Regions from separate parts of the Homo sapiens genome. Here region 1 is linked to region 2. The links are contacts of gene promoters, found by promoter capture Hi-C in human tissues and cell types (Jung and others, 2019). All regions are on one chromosome and are shown on one strand. Each heading gives the region's core, a stretch centred on a gene start or on the middle of the fragment in contact. The rest is flanking DNA. Distances are from core to core; before and after follow the strand shown. Region 1 has its middle 42 kb from the start of ABCA3. Region 2 holds the start of CEMP1 (cementum protein 1).

Region 1 (3,270 bases), core at 513-3,012, 150 kb before region 2:
GAAACCTCTTCTGGACACTATTCCTTAAACATTCAGGAAGGGTGAAGGGCATGGCGTTTAAGTCAAGATTTCTGAGTTAAAGGATTTCTACAAATGACTGTATTTGAATTTTTATATATTTTTTACTTTTTATTGAGACAAAATTCACATAACGTGAAATTCATCATTTTACTCATTTTACAATATTCAATTCAGTAGTTTTTAGTATACTCACAGTGTTTTGTTGTTTTGTTGTTGTTGTTTTTTTCAGAGTCTCACTCTGTTGCCCAGGCTGGAATGCAGTAGCACCATCTCAGCTCGCTGCAGCCTCCACCTCCTGGGTTCAAGCGATTCTCGTGCCTCAGCCTCCCAAGTAGCTGGGATTACGTGCACCTGCAACCATGCCTAGCTAATTTGTGTGTGTGTGTGCTTTTTTTTTTTGAGACGGAGTCGCACTCTGTCACCCAGGCTGCAGTGCAGTGGCGCAATCTTGGCTCACTGCAACCTCTGCCTCCCGGGTTCAAGTGATTCTCCTGCCTCAGCCTCTTGAGTAGCTGGGACTACAGGCGCATGCCACCACACCCAGCATTTTTGTATTTTTAGTAGACACAGGGTTTCACCATGTTGGCCAGGATGGTCTCAATCTCCTGATCTCATGATCCACCCGCCTCGGCTTCCCAAAGTGCTGGGCCTGGCCTAATTTTTATATTGTTAGTAGAGATGGGGTTTCGCCATGTTGGCCAGGCTTGTCTCAAACTCCTGACCTCAAGTGATCCACCCACCTCAGCCTCCCAAAGTGCTAGGATTACAGGTATGAGCCACCGTGCCCAGCCTGTATACTCACAATGCCATGTAACCATCACCACTATCTTATTGCAGAACATTTTCATTGCCCACAAAATAAACTTATACACATTATCAGTGACTTCCCATTGCTCCCTTCCCCTAGTCCCTGGCAACCACTAATCTGCTTTCTGTTTCTATGGGTTTGCCTATCCTGGATATTTCATATAAATGGAGTCATACAATATGTGGCTTTTTATGTCTGGCTTATTTCACTTAACATAATGTTTTCAAGGTTTATCCATATTTTAGTATATATTTGTACTTCACTCCTTTTAATAGCTGCATAATATCCATTCTACTCACCTGAATGTTTGCCCATTCCTCAGCTGATGGACATCGGGTTGCTTTCACCCTTTGGCTATTGTGAATAGTGCTGCTATGAACATTAGTGTTCACGTTTTTGTTTGAACACCTATTTTCAGTTATTTTGGGTAAATACCTATAAGTGAAATTAATGGGTCAGATGGTAACTCTATGTTTAACTTTTTTGTTTGTTTGTTTGTTTTACTTTTTGAGAAATTGCCGTTAGTGTGAAGTAGTACCTTGTGGTTTTGATTTGCATTTCTCTGTTGACTAATAATGTTGAGCATCTCTTCATGTGCTTATTGGCTATTTGTATACTTCTTTGGAGAGATATCTATTCCAGTCCTTTGCCTGTTTTTTTGGTTGGGTTCTTTATCTTTTTGTAGTTGAGCTGTAAGAGTTTTTTTTGTTTTTGTTTTCTTTCCATTTTTTTTTTTTTGAGATGAAGTCTCACTCTGTCACCCAGGCTGGAGTGCAATGGTGCGATCTTGGCTCACTGCATCCTCTGCCTCCCAGGTTCAAGCGATTCTCCTGCCTTAGCCTCCTCAGCAGCTGGGATTACAGACGTGCACCACCACGCCTGACTGATTTTTTTTTTTTTTTTTTTTTTTTGTATTTTTAGTAGAAACAGGGTTTCACCATGTTGGCCAGGCTGGTTTCAAACTCCTGACCTCAGGCGATCCACCAGCCTCAGCCTCCCAAAGTGCTGGGATTACAGATGTGAGCCACTGTGCCCAGCTTTTTTTTTTTTTTTTTTTGAGACAGCCTCTCACCTCTCACTTTGTTGCCCAGGCTGGAGTGCAGTGACAGGATCTCACCTCACTGCAATCTCTGCCTCCCAGGCTCAAGTGATCATCCTGCCTCAGCCTCGCAAGTAGCTGGGACCACAGGTACAGGCCAATTGCCTGGCTAATTTTCGTATTTTTTTGTAAAAATGGGGTTTTACCATGTTGCCCAGGCTGGTCTCAAACTCCTGAGTTCAAATGATCCTCTCGCCTTCGTCTTTCAGAGTGCTAAGTGAGATTATAGTCGTGAGCCACCGCACCCAGCCTGTAAAAAGTTTTTAAGTGTATATTCTAGATCCTAGGCCCTTGTTAGTTATATGATTTGCAAATATTTTCTCCTACTCTGTGGATTGTCTTTTCCCTTTATTGATAGTATTTTTAAATTTAAAACAAAAGTTTTAAATTTTGATGAAATCTAATTTATCTTTTTTTTATTTGTTACTTACGCTTTTGCTATTATATTTTAAAAATTATCGTCTAGGATTTATACTTATATTTCTTTTTAAGATTTCATAGCTTTGGTTCTTAGATTTAGATCTTTGGTCCATTATGAGTACATTTTTGTATATGGTGTGAGGTATGGGTCTACATTTATTCTTTTTCATATAGATATTAAGTTGTCTCAGCACTATTTGTTGAAAAGACTATTCCTTCCCCATTGAATGGTCATGGCATCCTTGTAAAAAGTCTATTTACCATAGATATATGGGATTGTTTCTAGACTCCCAATTCTATTCCATTGTTCCATATGTCGGTTGTTATGCCAGTACCACAATGTCTCAATGACTGTAACTTTCTAGGAAGTTTTGAAATTAGGAAATATGAGTCCTCCAACTTTGTTCTTCTTTTTAAGATTGTTTTGGCTATTCTGAGTCCCTTGCATTTCTATATGAATTTTTAGGATCAGCTTGCCTATTTTTGCAAAAAAAAAAAATAATAATAATAATAATAAGGTATTGGAATTTTAGTAGGGATTACATTGAATCTCTAGATTGCTTTGTGTTTATTTTTATTTTTTTGAGATGGAGTCTTGCTCTGTTGCCTAGGCTGGAGTGCAAAGGCTCAATCTCAGCTCACTGCAACCACTGCCTCCTGGGTTCAAGCGATTCTCCTGCCTCTGACTCCCGAGTAGCTGGGATTACAGGTGTGTGCCACCATGCCTGGCTAATTTTTTTGTATTTTTAGTAGAGACAGGGTTTCACCATGTTGGCCAGGCTGATCTCGACCTCCTGACCTCAGGTGATCCACCCACTTCGGCCTCCCAAAATGCTGGGATTACAGGTATGAGCCACTGCACCCAGCCTCTAGATTGCTTTGGATAGTAATGTCATATTAACAAAATTAAGTGTTCCAATCT
Region 2 (3,303 bases), core at 709-3,208:
TACTCATTGCCCGGCTCTGTCCCAGACTTCGTGGTGCTCGACGACTCCCTTCACGTCCAGGCCACCTACATCTCGGGTGAGCTGGTGTGGCAGGCGGACGCAGCTAGGCAGTGACAAGGACCTCGGCTGAGAGGACACCTGGCCGCAGCGGGATGCCATCAGGGCCGGGTGGTTGGGGAGCTGGTCTCCAGGGAGTGAGTCGGGAGCCCTGCTGGATTGATGCCCAGGGCCTGTGCGGCCGCCCTGGAGGCGGTGGCTGGGATAAACGTGCACCCAGCAGGACTCGCCTTGGCTCCGGGTTTTGCTTGTGCTCACATGTGGCACCATCCTTGGTTGCCCTCCTGGAGAAGGCATTCACGGCCTGGGGTGGGATGGCTGGGCTGTAGTTTAGCCTGGGCCTTGGGCCCCAGTGGGGGACAGGGCCTGTCTGCATGAAGTGGACCGGAGACCTGCAGACCCCAGGAAAGTGTCACTATGGGAGGGAGGGGCAGGCAGTCAGTGGCTGGTGCCATGGGGTGAAGCCACCATGGGCTGGGGGTGAAGAGCCGGCAGGAAGGGGACCAGTCACAGGGAGTGTGGACAGTCAGGGGTTTGCTTTCTGCTCCTGAGTTGGGGTGTGCAGCGTGGAGCCCACAGCCTGGTTCTGGGCCAGGGCACAGTGCCAGGGGCTCCGCTCTGACCTCCAGGAGGGAGACTGGGCCCGGGACCCCTGTTTTCTGCTCCCTGGACTGCCTAGCCCTGAGTGCCACGGATGACCAGCGTTCTGTTTTCTCTTCTCAATAACCCTATCTCTTCACACATCCCCAGGCCCAGTGCTTGCCGGCTGTGGTGACCCTGCCTGGTGCTGGAGGGCAGTATGGGAGGCACCAGTGTGCCCTGCTCACCCCATTAGTGTCATCCTGCCATCTTCTGTGTCCCCTTGGCCCTGGCACACACCCATGTGGCAAACACGGGCCGTGAGGCTCCCTGAACAGCTTCGAGGCGGGTGGGCTTCTGGAGCCCTCTTGGCTCTGAGGACAGCCACAGTGGGGTCAGACGTCAGGGATTGGTGCAGCCCCACGTCAGGGGTGATTGTCTTGACTTTCTCTCCATTTGAGTTCTGGGGTGGGTGGCTCCCTTCCCCCTTGCTTACAGGTGCTGTCCTGGGCACAGGAGGTACGCGCCTGGCTCTGCCACTGTTCTCTTCCCTCTGCTGCAAAGCCCAGTTAAGGAAATGTCTCCAGGTCCAAAGAGATAGGATGGTCTGGGCCCCACCTGTTGGAAGGGAACAGCCAGGGAAGAACCACCTGCCTGGGCAGGGCCTCGCCTGAGGGAGGGCCTGGGGCAGGGCACAAGGGGTTGATCTCAGCCCACAAGCCCCAGGGGCAGCCCAGGAAAGCAGGCGACGGATGTGGATCCTGACCTCCTGAGAGGTGTGAGGTGCAGGGATACCCACCTCTGCCTTGACGGCCGCGCACCCCTTAGGAAGTGGCTGTCCAGCGCCTGCCTGTGCTGGGCCTGGGAGAGGAGCTGTCTTGCCAGGGCTCCCAGGCAGGGAGAGGCAGGTGAGGTTCTCAGCCGATGTGTTAGAGGTTGAGCATCGCCTGTGCCCAGCTTGCTGGCTGTCAGTGCTTGATGTGCCCATCCTCAGCTAAAACCCAGAGCTGGCATGTTGGTCATCCCCACCTCAGACGGGACGCCCAGTCCAGAGCTGGTGAGCCCTGGGCCAGCCTTTGGGCCTGGCCTGCCCCATTCACCGGCCAGCGCCCCACCTCCCTGGCTGGAGGGTCGGGGAGGGGCTGGCAGAGATGGTTGGTCCACAGGGCTAGCCCTGGGTGGTGGGAGAGGGGCCCAGGGTCAGGGTGAGAGAGAGCTGGGCCAGGGAGCTGCTGCAGGATGATTTTGAGGTGTGGGGGAAGCACTCTTGGTTGGTTTTGGTTTGCTTTTTAAAAATTGTGGTAAAATACATAACAAAAGTAACTATCGTAACCTGAGCAGTTCTGTGACATGAAGTGAATTCACTGCTTTGTGTGACCTTGGCCACCATCATTCCCCACCACTCACTCCCGCTGGGCTCCCAGCCCTGCCCCACCATTCCGCTCCCTCTACAGCTATGGGTTTTACAAAGAAGGATGCAGGGCGCCCTGACTGCGGGGTGAGGGGCAGGCCTGCCCGCGGTGTGGGCATTCGCTGAAGGGGGACGCCCAGGTGTCTGCCTGAGTTACGGGTTGGGGGGTCGGGCATGTGGGGAGGGATGGAGTTGGAGGTGCATGCTCTCAGAGCTGGTAGGGGTGGCCCGTTTCGTCCCGTGTGTGAACTGGAGATGAGACCCGGCGCCTGCGATCCCGCAGACCGCGCCCGGCCGGGTGTCACTTGTGGGCGCACGCTGCCGGGATGCTGGGCCGAGCCCGCGGTTTAAGACCCAGATCTCAGCCAGGTCCCTTTCGCCGTCCGAGCCTCTGCACCTCGTGGGCTCCGAGCACATCCAGGCCAGAGACTGCGTTTGGGGCGTGGGCACGGGAGACCGTCATCAGCCAGGACGCTCTCGACCGATCCGGCCGCGCCCCGCCCAGCCTCGTAGCGCAGGCGCTGAGTCCAGGCTGACGCGCAACTCTGGGAGCGTTGCGGCACGCGGGGCCTTGCCTACTGTGGGAGGGGCTTCTGGGGGCGGGCTTCTGTCGGGCCAATTAGGATCGCCGCAGGGAAGGCACGCGCCGCGGCTGAGCAACAGGGGCGCGCGTCACCTTCTCTAGTTAACCCGCGCGGCCCCGGGCACAGAGCCCGAGGCTGCGCGGTCCCCGGCGGGCCCGCGGACCCCCCCCATCTCTGCGCCCCCCACATCTCTGCGGACCCCGCCTCGCCCCAGCCCTCCCATCCACAACCCTCACAACCTTGCATACCCCGCTACGCTCCCCACCGCGCCCTCACATTCCTGCAGACCCCGTCTCCCCACAACGCTCCCCGCCAACGCTGCGGAGCTCCGCGTCGCCCCAGCGCTCCCTGCCAAGCCCCCCACACCCCTGTAGACCCCGCCTCGCCCCAACCCTCCGAGCTGCTCCCCTTATACCCTTGCGGACCTAGTTTGTTTCGTCCCAGTCCTCCCCGTCGCGTCTCCCACATCCCTGCGGACCTCCCCGCGCCTCGCCTCTCCCTTCTGTTACGTATCACGCACAGGTGGATCCCACTACGACCCAGCTTGGCTCCTGTCCCGCACCTCCGCACCTGGCCTCTAGCCCCGCCCTCACTGTCTTGGGAAATGAAGCGGAGGGGTGGGCCGGACACTCTAGAAGCACCCTGGCTCGGAGCTTCCCTAGCTCGGAGTTG

What was found. The method cuts DNA at HindIII sites, captures the fragments that hold promoters and counts their contacts. A contact is called where the count stands out against the background at its distance.
Region 1: a fragment that was not itself captured here is called in contact with the fragment with the promoter of CEMP1 in region 2 in 2 of the 25 tissues and cell types used here (dorsolateral prefrontal cortex and lymphoblastoid cells).

Annotation. Positions count from the first base shown.
Region 1 is chr16:2,380,976-2,384,245 of GRCh38, forward strand. It overlaps the pseudogene ABCA17P. Among named protein-coding and RNA genes, the nearest start is that of ABCA3, 42 kb to the left of the region's middle. The HindIII fragment of the contact is 4,418 bases long and covers 1-3,270 here.
Region 2 is chr16:2,529,450-2,532,752 of GRCh38, forward strand. CEMP1 (cementum protein 1) reads right to left here and starts at 1,959. Exons shown (of 1, transcript NM_001048212.3): 1 at 586-1,959. The coding sequence starts at 1,624. The coding sequence ends at 881. It overlaps AMDHD2 (amidohydrolase domain containing 2), which reads left to right. Exons shown (of 11, transcript NM_001330449.2): 11 at 26-1,968. The coding sequence ends at 114. MIR3178 (microRNA 3178) reads right to left here and starts at 2,556; the gene lies at 2,473-2,556. RefSeq lists enhancers at 2,362-2,411, 3,190-3,303, 3,192-3,241. The HindIII fragment of the contact is 25,225 bases long and covers 1-3,303 here.